6 separate regions of the Homo sapiens genome follow, and regions 1, 2, 3, 5 and 6 are each linked to region 4. Evidence: promoter capture Hi-C in 16 types of primary human blood cells and fetal thymus (Javierre and others, 2016). All regions are on one chromosome and are shown on one strand. The core of a region is centred on a gene start or on the middle of the fragment in contact, and the rest is flanking DNA. Distances in the headings are between cores, read along the strand shown. Region 1 has its middle 33 kb from the start of MIR183. Region 2 holds the start of HILPDA (hypoxia inducible lipid droplet associated). Region 3 overlaps UBE2H-DT (UBE2H divergent transcript). Region 4 holds the start of AHCYL2 (adenosylhomocysteinase like 2). Region 5 overlaps UBE2H (ubiquitin conjugating enzyme E2 H). Region 6 overlaps UBE2H-DT (UBE2H divergent transcript).

The links. Contacts are between HindIII fragments. The CHiCAGO score rates a contact against its expected background, and 5 or more counts as called.
Region 1: a contact is called between a fragment that was not itself captured here and the fragment with the promoter of AHCYL2 in region 4, in 1 of 17 cell types (neutrophils). The highest score is 5.3, in neutrophils.
Region 2: a contact is called between the fragment with the promoter of HILPDA here and the fragment with the promoter of AHCYL2 in region 4, in 2 of 17 cell types (total B cells and fetal thymus). The highest score is 7.7, in total B cells.
Region 3: a contact is called between a fragment that was not itself captured here and the fragment with the promoter of AHCYL2 in region 4, in 1 of 17 cell types (neutrophils). The highest score is 12.9, in neutrophils.
Region 5: a fragment that was not itself captured here is called in contact with the fragment with the promoter of AHCYL2 in region 4 in 1 of 17 cell types (neutrophils); the score reaches 6.3 in neutrophils.
Region 6: a fragment that was not itself captured here is called in contact with the fragment with the promoter of AHCYL2 in region 4 in 1 of 17 cell types (neutrophils); the score reaches 9.0 in neutrophils.

What each region holds. Positions count from the first base shown.
Region 1 is chr7:129,806,882-129,809,667 of GRCh38, forward strand. No RefSeq gene overlaps it. Among named protein-coding and RNA genes, the nearest start is that of MIR183, 33 kb to the left of the region's middle. The HindIII fragment of the contact is 1,397 bases long and covers 684-2,080 here.
Region 2 is chr7:128,454,565-128,457,333 of GRCh38, forward strand. HILPDA (hypoxia inducible lipid droplet associated) reads left to right here and starts at 1,314. Exons shown (of 2, transcript NM_013332.4): 1 at 1,314-1,459; 2 at 2,637-2,769. The coding sequence starts at 2,705. It also overlaps the pseudogene EFCAB3P1. RefSeq lists enhancers at 1-48, 957-1,126 and a silencer at 1,227-1,366. The HindIII fragment of the contact is 2,271 bases long and covers 1-1,363 here.
Region 3 is chr7:130,015,570-130,018,398 of GRCh38, forward strand. The region is part of intron 3 of UBE2H-DT (UBE2H divergent transcript); the gene reads left to right. ZC3HC1 (zinc finger C3HC-type containing 1) reads right to left here. Exons shown (of 10, transcript NM_016478.5): 10 at 2,723-2,829. Among named protein-coding and RNA genes, the nearest start is that of ZC3HC1, 34 kb to the right of the region's middle. The HindIII fragment of the contact is 3,723 bases long and covers 1-2,829 here.
Region 4 is chr7:129,223,669-129,226,368 of GRCh38, forward strand. AHCYL2 (adenosylhomocysteinase like 2) reads left to right here and starts at 1,362. Exons shown (of 17, transcript NM_015328.4): 1 at 1,362-1,771. The coding sequence starts at 1,409. RefSeq lists an enhancer at 866-975 and silencers at 1,256-1,325, 1,446-1,695. The HindIII fragment of the contact is 12,976 bases long and covers 1-2,680 here.
Region 5 is chr7:129,942,215-129,945,026 of GRCh38, forward strand. The region is part of intron 1 of UBE2H (ubiquitin conjugating enzyme E2 H); the gene reads right to left. Among named protein-coding and RNA genes, the nearest start is that of UBE2H, 9.3 kb to the right of the region's middle. The HindIII fragment of the contact is 2,953 bases long and covers 22-2,812 here.
Region 6 is chr7:129,960,382-129,963,081 of GRCh38, forward strand. The region is part of intron 1 of UBE2H-DT (UBE2H divergent transcript); the gene reads left to right. Among named protein-coding and RNA genes, the nearest start is that of UBE2H-DT, 8.7 kb to the left of the region's middle. The HindIII fragment of the contact is 3,673 bases long and covers 1-2,700 here.

The DNA of each region.
Region 1 (2,786 bases), core at 132-2,631, 580 kb after region 4:
GAATACCTGAGACCAGGTAACTTATAAAGAACAGAGATTCTTTTTTTTTGAGACAGAGTCTTACTCTGTTGCCTAGGCTGGAGTGCCGTGGCACAATCTCAGCTCATTGCAACCTCTGCTTCCCCAGTTCAAACAATTCTCCTGCCTCAGCCTCCCAAGTAGCTGGGATCACAGGTGCCCGCCACCACACCCGGCTAATTTTTTGTATTTTTAGCAGAGACAGGGTTTCACCATGTTGGCCAGGCTGGTCTTGAACTCCTGACCTCAGGTGATCCACATGCCTTGGCCTCCCAAAGTGCTGGGATTACAGGCGTGAACCACTACGTCCAGCTAGGAACAGAGATTCATTTCTTACATTTCTGGAGGCTGGAAAATCCAAGGCTGAGAGGCCTGCATCTGGGCCTCTGGCTGTGTCTGTCATCCCATAACAAGAGGTGGAAGGGCAAAAAAGCATGAGAGAGAAAGAGAGAGAGAGAGAGAAAGCAAGAGAGTACCAAACTTGCTTTTATAATAAACCCGCTCCGCTGATAAGGACATTAATCCACACACAAAGTCAGAGCCCTTGCAAAAGGTCCCAGTCTCAACATTGCTGCACTGGGGATTAAGTTTCTGAGACATGATCATTGAGGGACACATTCAAACCATAGCAGTATTTTAAACAATATGGTGCCCAGCAAAATAAAAGCTTCAATAATTGAAACAAAATGAAGAGTTTGGAAGTAGAGCTAATGAACATAAATATTTGATGTGAGAGAAAGCACGTTTGAAAGCAAGGAGGTAGGAAAAGTGAATCTCTATCCATCTCTCTCCCTAGGTCCCTAGGTAACCTCATTCAATTCCACAGGCTTTCAATATTATCTGTGTGCGAATGACTCCCAAACTGGATATATCCACAAGGCCTTGCCCCTGAACACAGCACCCATTTCTATAATTTCCTGCCTGACATTTTCACCTGCTGAGTGATCCTCTTAAACTCACCATATCCCTCCCTCCCCAAATTCCTCCTGTGCCTCCTTTCTCATCTCAGTAGGTAGAATTCTCACTACCTGGTTGCTCAAATAGAAGTCCAGGCTTCATCATCAATTCTTCTTTCTCTCCCCAGCACATCCACTCCAAAGCAAGCCCGCCCCCTCCATTGGCCCATCCTTGCCCAGGCCACCACCTCTCCAGCCTGGATTGTGACACTGCCCTCTGGCTTCCATGCATGCTCTCTATCTCCTCTCTCCTCTCCTCTCCTCTCCTCTCCCCTCCCCTTCCCTCTTCTCTATTCTTTTCTTTTCTTTGATGGAGTCTCGCTCTGTCACCCAGGCTGGAGTACACTGGCACTATCTCAGCTCACTGCAACCTCCACCTCCTGGGTTCAAGCGATTCTCCTGCCTCAGCCTCCCAAGTAGCTGGGATTATAGGCCTATGCCACCACACATGGCTAATTTTTGTATTTTTAGTACAGATGGGGTTTTGCCATGTTGGCCAGGCTGGTCTCAAACTCCTGACCTCAGGTGATCCACCTGTCTCAGCCTCCCAAAGTGCTGGGATTACAGGCATGAGCCACCGCACCCAGCCAATATATTTTCCATACGGCAGCTGGAGATAACATCAACATATTTTCAGTCAGGCAAGGTACCTCATGCCTGTAATCCCAGCACTTTGGGAAGCCAAGGCAGGAGGATCCTTGAGCCCAGACGTTCAAGAGCAGCCTGGACAACATAGAGAGACCCTGTCTCTATTAAAACAAACTAGCCAGCTGCGGTGGTGCATGCCTGTAGTCCCAGCTACCTGGGAGGCTGAGGTAAGAGGATCACTTGGGCCCAGGAGGTTGAGGCTGCAGTGAGCCATGATCATGCCACTGCACTCCAGCCTGGGTGACAGAGTGAGACACTGTCTCAAAATAAATTTTAAAAATAAAATAAAACAAAATGTTTTTCACATCCACTTTTACCTGGCCTGGCTCCCCCCCACCCTTCTGAACCCCACTTGCCATCGATGGCATTCTGAAGGTTCATTGCCTCTGGGTACAAAAACCTTCAGAGATGCAAACAAACGCATAATTTGAAAATCTGCTTTGGGGATGGCTCCCAAAAGCTTAATCAGGCCTATAAGTTTCCGGGCCTTTCCTTGTCATTTCTGTGTATCTGTTAAGGGTGAAGCAGGGGTTAAAAACTGTACTTCCACCAGGCGCAGCGGCCATACCTGTAATCCCAGCACTTTGGGAGGCCGAGGCGGGCGGATCATGAGGTCAGGAGATCGAGACCATCCTAGCTAAAACGGTGAAACCCCATCTCTACTAAAAATACAAAAAATTAGGTGGGCGTGGTGGTGGGCGGCTGTAGTCCCAGCTACTCAGGAGGCTGAGGCAGGAGAATGGCGTGAACCCGGGAGGTGGAGCTTGCAGTGAGCTGAGATCACGCCACTGCACTCCAGCCTGGGCGACAGAGCGACACTCCGTCTCAAACAAAAACAAAAACAAAAACAAAAAAAGTGTACTTTCAGCCGGGTGTGGTGGCTCATGCCTATAATCCCAGTGCTTTGGGAGGCCAAGCAGGCAGATCACCTGAGGTCAGGAGTTCAAGACCAGCCTGGCCAACATGATGAAACTCTGTCTCTACTAAAAATACAAAAATTAGCCAGGCATGGTGGCAGTGCCTGTAATCCCAGCTACTTGGAGGGCTGAGGCACAAGAATTGCTTGAACCCAGGAGGCAGGGGCTGTGGTGAGCCAAGATAATGCTACTGCACTCCAGCCTGAGTGACAGAGTGAGACTCTGTCTCAAAAACAAAAAACAACAA
Region 2 (2,769 bases), core at 64-2,563, 770 kb before region 4:
GACCACAGCCAGCCAGCCAGGAAAGGAGGGGAAAGGTCGCAGTGGGGATGGCTCCTCCCTTCCCGTCTTAGAGCCCTTCTTAAGCAGAGCCCGCCGAGCTCGCTGAGATGTGGAAAGTCACAGGGTTCTTTCCCATCCGGCACGGGCACTTGACCCGGGTACACGGAACCGCCAGTTCTAAAGCCACCAGCGGCCTTCCCTTCCACGGCGTGTACACCCCTTCCCGGGGGTCCTCCCCATTCCCAGTGTCTCTCCGGGACTCTACTTTCTGAGATCCCCCGTTGCGTGCTCTCAAGACAGACCGCACAGTCTTGGCTGGGTGGGTTCGGGGGTGATTAGTAAGGCAGCCTAGCCCCCCAAATCTGGACATAAGGCTGGTCTGTGACCTCCTGGCTCTTTAGTTCAAGCCGAAAGCACCCTTAAAAATCATCTAGCGGCCGGGCGCGGTGGCTCACGCCTGTAGCCCCAGCACTTTGGGAGGCAGAGGTGGGAGGATGGCTTGAGATCAGGAGTTCGAGACCAGCCTGGGCAACATAGCGAGACTGTCTCTATTTAAAAAAAAAAAAGAAGAAGAAGAAGAAAAATCATCTAGTGGCCAATGTCTTCATTACAGATGAGAAAACCGAGGCCCATTTAAATACCAAGTGACTTGCCCATATGCAGTTAGGATCCCACACCAGGGCCAGGAGTATTTCACGTTTTCTGAAGCGACACGACAAACTCTCATAGAAAGCAGAGCTTGCAGAGCTTAATATGTTGCACAAGGGCCTCACCATTCCAGAGATACCGATGGCAACTGAAACTCGGGATTTGGAATCTTGGTACAGCTATGAAGTGAAACAAAACCAGCTCTTCAGTCCTTGAAATGAAGAAAATAACGAGTGGGGTAGGGGTCTGGTGCCCTCTGACAATTTAGTGCACCCGAAATCTCTGGGGAAGAACCCACCCTTCACGGCGGGGCTTCACGGACACGAAGGCCATCGGTGTTTTTCACCTACTGGGGAGAAGGGATATGTGCTCTCTGACTCCTTCAAATGTTTTCTACAGCAGAGATGGCAGTCGAGATTAATACACACGCCTCGTCTCACTCCAGAACACAATGACTCAAAACCGCACGACGTGTACTTTTGGAAACAGCTCCGCGGGAGAGCACCCGGGACAATCCCCAAACCCCGTTGCCCGCGGGGTGGGGCCGCGGACGTGCGCCACGTCGTGTGCGTCCCGGGCGTGCGTGCGGCCTCCAGTGCGCGTGCGCGTACCCTCCTGGGGCGTGCTCGCGGCTATAAGGGGCGGAGGCTGGGCGGCGTTGCTCTGCGCTCTGCGGCTGACGGCGCTTTTGTCTCCGGTGAGTTTTGTGGCGGGAAGCTTCTGCGCTGGTGCTTAGTAACCGACTTTCCTCCGGACTCCTGCACGACCTGCTCCTACAGCCGGCGATCCACTCCCGGCTGTTCCCCCGGAGGTGAGCGGCCCTGTGGGCTTCCCCGGCTCCCCACCCCCATCGCTAGAGTGCTCGCCGCGCTAGCAGCCTCGCGTTCCAGGGCTGGGGGTGCGCCGCCGGGATCCTCTCTGATCGCCCACGCCCCATCTGGGGTCCCCATTCAGCCGTCAGCCCTGTTTTGTCCTAAGGTGGTCCTAACTAGGATCCACGTGGCCCATCCCACGCCCACAGGTGCTGAGTTAGGCATCCCTGCCATGCCCTCCCAGAGCACCTTCACGATCTCCTTGCTGTCCCAACACTTAGCGTGTTGCGTGTTAACTACCCTTTGTCTATAAGGTTTGCAATGTGGCCCTAGTATCTTCCAGGGTACCTAACACATTGCAGATATTCATGGTATGTTTGTTAAATAAATGAACTTGATAGATTTGACCCTCATAGAGTTATTTGGACTTGCAAAAAGTTTGTAGTTAACTCCAATCTGTGATGTGGGAGAGACTTCTAGGCAGGTTCCTTTCTCCAGGGCATGTTCTTATATTTCCCATTACCCACCACCCCCCTGCAAAAGGACTGGGCCTATTTCAGGAAGGTGACTGATGCCTGCACTGTAGCACAGGGGTTGTGTATTGTGCCTTGCAGGAACAAAATTTTCAATAAAGTAAATGTTTGTTTGTTTGTTTTTGAGACGGAGTTTTGCTTTTGTTGCCGAGGCTGGAGTGCAATGGCGCGATCTTGGCTCACTGCAACCTCTGCCTCCCGGGTTCAAGCAATTCTGCCTCAGCCTCCCGAGTAGCTGGGATTACAGGCATGTGCCACTATGCCCGGCTAATTTTTGTATTTGTAGTAGAGACAGGGTTTCACCATGTTGGTCAGGCTGGTCTCGAATTCCTGACCTCAGGTGATCCACCCGCCTCGGCCTCCCAGAGCGCTGGGATTACAGGTATGAGCCACCGCGCCTGGCCTAAGAAAGTAAAAGTTTTAAGAAGTGTTCTTGAATTAGTCCAAGAAGCAACACTGGCTCCGCAGCCATGAAGTTTGCAATGTAAAATATTCTTGGAGAGTTGCTGTGCAACTCCCTGGTCCCTGTGTCCCTCACTGGCTAAGCCTCTCCTTCAGCCCTGTGAGAGGACAGAAGAGTCAGGGCTGGATGCATGCATATCCCCAAAAGGCTATAGATTCATCCTTTCCTCTTTTTTCTCAGGGTCCAGAGGCCTTTCAGAAGGAGAAGGCAGCTCTGTTTCTCTGCAGAGGAGTAGGGTCCTTTCAGCCATGAAGCATGTGTTGAACCTCTACCTGTTAGGTGTGGTACTGACCCTACTCTCCATCTTCGTTAG
Region 3 (2,829 bases), core at 65-2,564, 790 kb after region 4:
CCAAGCTAGAGTGCAGTGGCGTGATCTCAGCTCACTACAACCTTCATCTCCCAGGTTCAAGTGATTCTCCTGCCTCAGCCTCCCGAGTAGCTGGGATTATAGTCATGTGCCACCACACCCAGCTAACTTTTGTATTTTTAGTAGAGACGGGCTTTCACCATGTTGGCCAGACTGGTCTCAAACTCCTGACCTCAACTGATCTGCCCGCCTCGGCCTCCCAAAGTGCTGGGATTACAGGCATGAGCCACCATGCCCAGCCCAAAATATTCTTTAAGAGTTTCTCTTTCCCTAGAGAATCAAGTCCAAACTCCTTAGTATAACATACAAGACTCTAATCTGGCCCAACTTCCATTTTCTTTTCCTTTCTTTTCTACTCAACACAGAGTTCTAGCCACAGCAGAATACCTGCTCTTCCTGGAACATATCCTACATGCTGCTCATTTGCTTACAATGCTCCCTCAGTCTCGGATGTGCATATTTTTAACCGAGGGTCTATCACGTGTCAGGCACTGTTTTGAATGTTGAGATTAAAACCAGGACAAAGTCCCTGTTCTCATGGAGCCTGCATCTCCCACTCATCTCCAAGGACCAGCTCAAATCTACACCTTCCTCAAAGTTCTTCCCAACGACACATGACCATTCACTTCTTCCTTTTTTATACCTCTCCTAGACTAGAGCATTTAGCAGTTTGTCCCGCAACATTTATATACCAGTGTGTCTTCTGGCCTGGCCTATATACTTCTTAGAGGTAGAAAGTAGGTAGTCATTCATCTACAGGGGCTAGCACAGTGCCTCACACATGAAAGAGAATGTTTCTTGAATTACACAAAGTCTATCTCAATCTGCTTCAATTTATATTTTTATTTACATATTTATTTTTGAGACAGGGTCTCACTCTGTTGCCCAGGCTGGAGTGAGTGCAACGGTGATCTTAGCTCACTGCAGTCTGCCTTTCTGGGCTCAAGAGATCCTCCCAGCTCAGCCTCCTGAGTAGCTGAGACTACAGGCAAAAGCCACCATACCTCACTAATTTTTTTCTATTTTTCGTTTAAGACAGGATTTCTCCTTGTTGCCCAGGCTGGTCTTGAACTCCTAGACTTGAGTGATCCTCCTGCCTCAGCCTCCCAAAGTGTTGGGATTGTAGGCATGAGGCATCATGCCTGGCCTCTGCTTCCATTTATGATTTTATTTTATTTTTTAATTTATTATTATTATTATTTTTGAGATGGAGTCTCGCTCTGTTGCCCAGGCTGGAGTGCAGTGGTCGATCTCGGCTCACTGTAAGCTCCGCCTCCCGGGTTCGCGCCATTCTCCTGCGCTCAGTAGCTGGAACTACAGGCGCCCGCCACCACGCCCAGCTAGTTTTTTATATTTTTAATAGAGATGGTGTTTCACCGTGTTAGCCAGGATGGTCTCGATCTCCTCACCTCGTGATCCGCCAGCCTCGGCCTCCCAAAGTGCTGGGATTACAGGCGTGAGCCACTGTGCCTGGCCATTTTATTTTTATTTTTTGACCTGGACTCTTGCTCTGACGCCAAGGCTGGAGTGTAATGGCGGCAATCTCACTGTAGCCTCCTCCCCCGGGGTTCCAGCTATTCTCCTGCCTCTGCCTCCAGAGCAGCTGGGATTACAGGTGCACGCCGCCACACACGGCTGATTTTTGTATTTTTAATAGAGACAGGGTTTCACCATGTTGGCCAGGCTGATCTTGAACTCCTGACCTCAGGTGATCCGCCCACCTTGGCCTCCCAAAGTGCTGGGATTACAGGCGTGAGCCACCACGCCCGGTCAGATTATTAATTTTTGTTGGGTGTAATATGTTGGAGAAAAGTTATATATATATAAAAATATACATAAATATATATATATATATATAATGAGACGGAGTCTTGCTCTGTCACCCAGGCTGGAGTGCAGCAGACGATCTCGGCTCGCTGTAGCTTCCACCTCCTGGGTTCAAACGATTCTCCTGTCTCAGCCTCTCCAGTAGCTGGGACACCAGGCACCCGTCACCACGCCTGGCTAATTTTTGTATTTTTAGTAGAGATAGGGTTTCACCATGTTGGCCAGGTTGGTCTTGAACTCTTGACCTCAAGTGATCTGCCCACCTTGGCCTCCCAAAGTGCTGGGATTACAGGTGTGAGCTACCGCACCTGGCCTAGGTTCTATTTTTTAGAGATTAAACTATGAGTAAAATATTATGTGTTATTTTCTTTAAAATACTTCAGTACAAAAGTATAAAACAAAACAATCTCAGTGACGAAAAACATGGCATATCAGAGAATAATCACTTTCTAGCCTTTGCTAGGTCATGGTTACTTTATCAGTGGGCAGTTCAGGGTCCACCTTCTCTACCACAAAAACTGATGATCCCCCAAAAGCAACGAGTCTTGGGGAAGCCCAACTGGGGGACTCATGCATTCAATGGCACATGGAGAGGGGTCTCTTCTGAAGTGCCTTCCTCCCCATTACATTGTTTTATTCTGTTATTATCAAAGCAAGGAGAAAATTATCAGTTGACCATTCACTATAACACACCAGGAAATTTCCTGGTGGCATAATGAAAATCATCTTGCTTTTGGTTTAGGAAAGATTATACCTCCTTGACTGGAATCACAAATTTTAGGCTTTGCAGCCAATCTGAAAATCAAAAGTTGAATGTTCCACTGAAGTTTCTCCGGCCCACAGGGCAAGGGGGAAAACAGTTCTCCAACAATGAGAATCTTAGCAAATATTTTATTAATACACACTGTCATAGTCCTAGGATAGAAGAGTCCTCAGAACACTGCTCCACATTGAAGATGCTGAAATGGGTGGTCAGGTCCTTAG
Region 4 (2,700 bases), core at 112-2,611:
CTTTCTTTCTTCCTTTTTTTCTGGGACGGCATCTCACTCCGTTGTCCAGGCTGGAGTGCCGTGGCATGATCTTGGCTCACTGCAGCCTCTGCCTCCCAGGTTCAAGCGATCCTCCTGCCTCAGCCTCCCAAGTAGCTGGGATTTCAGGTGCCCGCCACCACGCCTGGCTAATTTTTGTATTTTTAGTAGAGATGGGGTTTCACCATGTTGGCCAGGCTGGTCTTGAAGTCCTGATCTCAAGTGATCTGCCGGCCTTGGCCTCCCAAAGTGCTGGGATTACAGACGTCAACCACTATGCCCAGCTGGCAAACGATTTTCAAAGGCTGTAACAATTGCTCTATTTGTTGGACATTAGTTTTAGACAGTTTTTTGTTATTAAAAAGGACGCTGCGGTGCATGTCTTTTTGCTTACATCCTCTAAATGTAAAATTTAAAAATAATACAGAAAAGTACAAAGTAAAAATCACCTTAAATCCCATCACTTAGGAAATTAACTACTCATATTCACTATTCATATCCCTCTATGCTGATATATGTATCTGAATTTCAGATGATTGCCCTATTAGAATTATAGGTGAAAAGATTTGGCCTCGTTTAAGGCAACGTGTAATTCCTCAGCCTTGAATTTTGATCTAGTGATACCTAACTTCTTTGAGGAATGATCTTAGCTTCCAAACCCAGAATGTGACAGAAAGCGCCACAGCAAGCAAGGTCCTACTTTATCCCTTCTAAAAACAAAGCCACTGAAGTTTGGAAGGGTGTTGAGTTCTCAATATCACAAAGAAAAATAAAGCCACTTCCAGCCTGGAGCCGCCGCTTCTCCTTTAAATACTCGCTCACGTGATCGCAGACGGGCACGCGCGGAGGAACTTCACGCTGTCAGGACAACGAGCCATTCCTCTACCACTTCCCCTCCCCTAAGGCTTCTTGGCGTTCCCTCCCCGGAAGTCACAACTCCTCTGGAGACTTTCTCTTCCTCATCCCCTCCGTCGAGTCACCTATCCTCACTCCTTTCTGTTAGCTGCCGGCCCTAGCGCTCCCTCTCCTCGGCTGAATCTCACTTAGTGGAGGAAAGGCTGAAAGGACTACAACTCCCAGGGGACGCTGCGGGCCCCGCCCATGGGGCGCGCAGTGTAGGTCGGGGCCTGAGGTCCCACGGTCTTCTCGCCGCGTGCGGCCGGGAGCAAACGCACTACAGGTTCCGTGGCGCCTCGCGCGAGGCCAGACCGGGACGGGGCGGGGCGGGGCTGGAGGGGCCGGGACTGGCGGGCGGAGAAAGGGGGTGGGAGAGGAGGCGATGGAGGGGAGGAGTGGGGACATGGGGGAGGGAAGAGGAAGGGAGGTGGGAGGCGGGGCCGACCAAGAGCAGGAGCTGGAGTCTGAGCCGGTGGTTGCAGCGGAGGCGGTGATGTCGGTGCAGGTTGTGTCAGCCGCGGCTGCCGCCAAGGTGCCTGAGGTGGAGCTGAAGGACCTGAGCCCCTCCGAGGCGGAGTCGCAACTAGGACTGAGCACGGCCGCCGTGGGCGCCATGGCCCCCCCGGCGGGCGGTGGAGACCCTGAGGCTCCAGCTCCCGCCGCGGAGCGGCCCCCGGTCCCCGGCCCGGGCTCGGGGCCCGCCGCCGCTCTCAGCCCCGCCGCCGGGAAGGTGCCTCAGGCGTCGGCCATGAAGCGGAGCGACCCACATCACCAGCACCAGCGGCACCGCGACGGCGGCGAGGCCCTGGTCAGCCCCGACGGCACCGTCACCGAGGCGCCGCGCACAGTCAAGAAGGTACTGGGGCCGGGCTGCCTCTCTAGGAGAGGAAGGGAGGGGAGGGGAACTGCAGATCCTCTCGGCACGGCGGCACCACCCTCCACGCCCTCCTTTCTGATCGCAGGACCGGAGATACCCCTTGTCCCCTTAAACCCACTCTCTCAGAGATGCCCCCCAGCCGGCCCCTCGTGCTGGGAGCGGAGACTCCAGGAGGCACGGCCGTACTTCGCTCTGAATAACATGGAGGTAGCGCTCTCCCCTACTACTTGGAATAGGCAGCGGGAGGAGAGACACCTAATAGTACGTCCCGCGGCCCCAACACGCTCCCGGGTGTGATTTTCCAGCCTATCGGGGAAGAGACCTCGATAGTATAGAAAAACCTTACCGCTCACGGGAGTTCACACAGCAATAAGGATGAAAAGATCTTTAATACTTGGAGAACGAGTAAGGTGTAGTCACCTTGCATAGAAATCGTCAGAGTTGTCTGGTTTCCATACAGTTGATGACTTTCTGCCTTTCTGTGGCCAACCGTGGCCATACAGCAACACGATGCTGTGCCCTTCATTTCCAGCGACTGCGATATTCTCTCTTCCCTGAATATGTAAAAGGGTAATGGAGAGATTCTCCTCACTCTTTCGTGTTAAGAGCTTTGTCCTCCCTGCTGGGTATAGTTGGTCACCAGGATTATTAGGCTGTGTATGAAGAGAATGAATGTCTTATTGATTGCTTTATTATAATCTGAAAGTGATAGGAAGAAATGCTGCTACTTTTGGGAAAGACGATCTTTGTGGGGTTTTCGGTCTTAGGCGTCAGCTTCTTTCAGACAGTTTTGAGGAGGTCTCAGAATACCAAGAAGTAACTGCCTAGGTGGATGATAGCCCTGTATTACCCGTACATTGTCTATCCATAGTTGTCTGTCTCTCTCAAAGCTTGTCTTTCTTTCTCTC
Region 5 (2,812 bases), core at 248-2,747, 720 kb after region 4:
AAAAAAAAAAAAAAAAAAAAAAGCTTCAAAAAATTCCAGGCTGGGCGCGGTGGCTCACACCTGTAATCCCAGCACTCTGGGAGGCCAAGGCAGGGGGATCACCTCTCTACTAAAAATAAAAAATTAGCCAGGCGTGGTGGCACATGCCTGTAATCCCAGCTACTCAGGAGGCTGAGGCAGGAGAATCGCTTGAACCTGGGAGGCAGAGGTCGCAGTGAGCCGAGATCATGCCATTGCACTCCAGCCTGGGCAACAAGAGTGAAACTCCGTCTCTCACACACACAAAAATTCCAGGAAAGCATGATATCAAAGGATATCCTAACTCTTATAGTCTGTTTCCCATTCTGTCACTGAGCTGCTGTTAGTTCCTTTCACCTGAGTTTATTCCATGTGAAAATTGAAGATATTATTCAGACTTCAACAGAGTGCTCCAGAAATATTTATCAACTGCTGTAAACTTCACTAGAAATGCTAAAGAAATGTTAAAAAAAATCTTATCAATACTTTACAAAGAAAATAATACCATCAACAAAAAGTGTGCTTACCTATTCACAAAGATATAGAGCCTTACTAGCAAATATAAAAATAAAATTGCTGTTTGTGACTATGATCCTAAAGTGTAATGTGTTTTTTTTTTTGTTTTTTGAGATGGAGTCTTGCTCTGTTCCCCGGGGTTGGAGTGCAGTGGCATAATCTCGGCTCACCACAACCTCCGACTCCCAGGTTCAAGCAATTCTCCTGCCTCAGCCTCCTGAGTAGCTGGGATTACAGGTGTGCACCACCACACCCAGCTAGTTTTTGCATTTTTAGTAGAGATGGGGTTTCGCCATGTTGGCCAGGTTGGTCTTGAACTCTTGACCTCAGGTGATCTGCCCACCTCAGCCTCCCAAAGTGCCAGGATTACAGGCATGAGCCACTATGGCCGGCCAGATTCCTAAAGTGTAATTTCAAAGGGCCACAAAACATTTTTTTTAGACAGGGCCTTGCCCTGTCACCCAGGCTGGACTGCAGTGGCATGATCTTAACTCACCACAACCTCTGCCTCCTGGGCTTAAGTGATCCTTCTGCCTCAGCCCCCAGAGTAGCTGGGATTACAAGTGCATGCCACCATACCTGGCTAATTTTTTATCTGTTTTGGTAGAAATAGGCTTTTGCCATGTAGCTCAGGCTAACAAAAATATTTCACAATAAAAATTTAATTTACTAATTTCAAATGGGGGTGGGGAGAGAAGAGTAGCTACCAAATCAGCTTTAACCAAATTCAGCTAGAAATCAATGCTTTAGGCCAAGCGCCGGGAGGCAGAGGTTGCAGTGAGTTGAAATCGCACCACTGCACTCTAGCCTGGGCAACACAGCCAGACTCCGTCTAAAAACACAAACACAAAAACAAACAAAAAACCAGATTGGCCAGGCATCGTGGCTCACACCTGTAATCCCAGTACTTGAGAGGCAGAGGCAGGCGGATCACCTGAGGTCAAGAGTTCAAGACCAACCTGGCCAACATGGCAAAACCCTGTCTCTAACTAAAAATACAAAAATTAGCTGGGTGTGGTGGCAGGCCCCTGTAATCCCAGCTACTCGGGAGGGTGAGGCAGGAGAATCGCTTGAACTCAGGAGGCAGAGGTTGCAGAGAGCCAGTCTGGGCGACAGAGCGAGACTGATTCTGTCTTTAAAAAAGGAAGATAAAGTGTTTAAATCATTATTCAAGTGAAAGGTATCACAATCATTGTGGTAAAATTTGTTTTATTGATAAAAAAATTAACAAAATTCATATACTATAAAATAAGGTTAATAATAAAAAATAAATCAGTGCTTTAAGAGCATGTAATTTAACATGATTCCTTTAAAATACACAAGTGAGGCCAGGCGCTGTGGCTCATGCCTGTAATCCCAGCACTTTGGGAGGCCACGGTGGGCAGATCATGAGGTCAGGAGATCAAGACCATCCTCGCTAACATGGTGAAACCCTGTCGCTACTAAAAATACAAAAAATTAGCCAGGCTTGGTGGCGGGTGCCTGTAGTTCCAGCTACTCAGGAGGCCGAGGCAGGAGAATGGCGTGAACCCAGGAGGCGGAGCTGGCAGTGAGCCGAGATCGCGCCACTACACTCAGCCTGGGCGACAGAGCGAAGACTCCGTCTCAAAACAAAACAAAACAAAACAAAACACACAAGTGAAACAACCGTTGTCACAATTTTATTTGGGTGTGAAATATGGACCATCATCAGTAAACATTAAATTCAAACTACGTGTTAAACATGGCTGGGCACAGCGGCTTACATCTGTAATCCCAGCACTTTGGGAGGCCAAGGCCAGAGGATCACTTAAGCCCAGGAATTTGAGACCAGCCTGGCCAACAGTGAGACCTCATCTCTACAAAAAAAATAAAATTAGCCAGGCAAGTGGCCACGACTGCAGTGAGCTGAGATCACACCATGAACTCTCATCTGGGCAACAGAGTGAAATCCTGTCTCAAAACACACACGTGCGCATGCGCTCAAAACACACACACACACACACACACACACACACACACACGCACGCACGCACGCGCATGCGCAAACCCTACCACATGATCTAGCTTAGCCAAGAGAAAAAAAAGCGTATATCCATACAATGTTCATAGCAACTTTACTGGTAATAGCCCAAAACTGGAAATAACCCAAATGCCACCAAGCATTAAGAGGTGAATGCATAAACAAATTGTGGTATATCCACATAATAGAATACTACTCAGCAATAAAAAAAAAATGAACTAAATAACATGGGTGAATCTCAGAATTATAAGTGAAAGAACCCACACAAAAAGAGTA
Region 6 (2,700 bases), core at 113-2,612, 740 kb after region 4:
GAGTGCAATGGTGCCATCTTGGCTCACTGCAACCTCTGCCTCCCAGGTTAAAGCGATTCTCCTGCCTCAGCCTCTCAAGTAGCTGGGATTACAGACACCCGCCACCATACCCAGCTAATTTTTTTGCGTATTTTTGGTAGAAACAAGGTTTCACCATGTTGGCCAGGCTGGTCTGAAACTCCTGACCTCAGGTGATGCACCCACCTCGGCCTCCCAAAGTGCTGGGATTGCAGGCGTGAGCCACCACACCTAGCTTCTCTTTTATTTTTAATTAATTAATTAATTAATTAATATATTTATTTTTGAGACAGAGTTTTGCTTTTGTTGCCCAGGCTGGAGTGCAATGGCGCGATCTCGGCTCACCACAACCTCCGCCTCCTGGGTTCAAGCGATTCTCCTGCCTCAGCCTCCCAAGTAGCTGGGATCACAGGAATGTGCCACCACACCCGGCTACTTTTGTATTTTTAGTAGAGATGGGGTTTTTCCATGTTGGTCAGGCTAGTCTCGAACTCCCAACCTCAGGTGATCCACCCGCCTCAGCCTCCCAAAGGGCTGGGATTATAGGCATGAGCCACCGCACCCGGCGACTATTCATTTATTTTTTGAGATGGAGTTTTGCTCTTATTGCCCAGGCTGGAATGCAGTGGCGTGATCTCGGCTCACAGAAACCTCTGCCTCCTGGGTTCAAGCGATTCTCCTGCCTCAGCCTCCCAAATAGCTGGGATTCCAGGCATGTGCCACCACGCCCAGCTAATTTTGTATTTTTAGTAGAGACTGGGTTTCTCCATGTTGGTCAGGCTGGTCTCAAACTCTTGACCTCAGGTGATCCACTTGCCTGGGCCTCCCAGAGTGCTGGGATTACAGGCGTGAGCCACTGCACCCAGCTGTCTTTTCTTTTTTAAGAGGTGATTAGGTTGTGAGGGCTCTGTGTTATTCTGTTATAGCAACAGAAAAAAGACTAAGACACCCCTGAACTCAGAGGCATATACATAGCTGCCTGTGCGACATCTCATGTCCAAAAATAAATTTCTGATACCACCTCCTCACCTCTTCCTCACATACTTTTCCCCATCTCAGTCAATGACAACTATTAAGTTGAAATATATGAAATTGCCTTTTAAGGTTAAGAACTATCAAATATTGGTGATTTCATTTGGTTCAACCTAATACATTCTTCTAGCTGCTCAGGCCAAGGGCCTTGAATTACGGTCCCCGACCCTTCTTGTTCTTTAGCCCCTTCATCCAATTATCAGGAAATCCTGTTGGCCCTACCGTCAAAATATATCCAGAATCTTTTCCTTGCCTTCTCTACCAAGCCATCATCTCTTACATAGATTGCTATAATCACTTCCCAGTTGGCCTCACTTCTTCAAACCCTGTATTCAACTCAGAAGCCAGTGAGCCTAACTATAAAGCAAATCTTGTCTCCCTACTGTTCAAAACCCTCCAAGAGCTTCCCAGTTCACATCGTGACATCATGTAAAAGTCAAAGCCATCACAGGCATTCAAAGCCCTACAGGAGCTGCCCTATCCGATTCTGTCACTCACTCCTTTCTACCCACACTGGTCTTTTTCATTTTTTCTTTTTTCACATGTAGATATATATTTTAAGACTAGTCAAGTGAAGCAGTGGGGATGGAGAAGGAACAAAGAAATCTGTAATCAAGAGTTGTAAACACTGCACTCAGACCAGCCCACATTGGGTTTCTTGCTGTTCCTCATATACACCAAGCATGCCCCGGCCTGGGGTCCTTTGCACTTTGCTACTTTCTCAGCCTAAAATATTCTTCCCCTAGATAAGCATATGGCCTGCTCCCTAATGTCCTTTGAGTCTTTGCTGAAATGTCACCTTCTCAGTAGAGCCTTCCCTGAGCACCTTAGTATTTAATTATTTAGAGATAGGGCCTTGCTCTGTCGTCCAGGCTAGAGTGTCTTGGTGCTATTATGCCTCACACAGCCTCAAACTCCCAGGCTCAAGTGATCCTCCCACCTCAGGCCCCCAAGTAGCTGGGACTACAGCTGTGTGCCACCATACCTGGCTGACTTTTTTTTTTTTTTGGTAGACATAGGGTCTCGCTATGCTGCCCAGGCTGGTCTTGAACTCCTGGGCTCAGGTTACCCTCCTACCTCAGACTCCCAAAGTGCTGGAATTATAGACATGAGCCGCTGTACCCAGCTTATTTATTGATTGATTTTTGAGACAGAGTCTCACTCTGTCAACCAGGGTGGAGTGCAATGGCACAATCTCCACTCACTGCAACCTCCCTCTCCCAGGTTCAAGTGATTCTCATGTCTCACCCTTCCAAATAGCTGGGATTACAGGCACCTGCCACCATGCCTGGCTAATTTTTGTATTTTCAGTAGAGACGGGGTTTTGCCATGTTGGCCAGGCTGGTCTATGAACTCCTGACCTCAGGTGATCCATCCGCCTCGGCCTCCCAAAGTGCTGGGATTACAGGCATGAGCCACTGCGACCAGCCTATTTATTTATTTATTTATTTATTTATTATTATTTTTTGAGACAGAGTCTCGCCCTGTCACCCAGGCTGGAGTGCAGTGACATGATTGCGGCTCACTGCAACCTCCGCCTCCCGGGTTCAAGCGATTCTTCTGCCTCAGCCTCCCAAGTAGCTGGGACTATAGGCGCGTGCCACCACACCTGGCTAATTTTTGTAGTTTTTAGTAGAGGTGGGGTTTCAC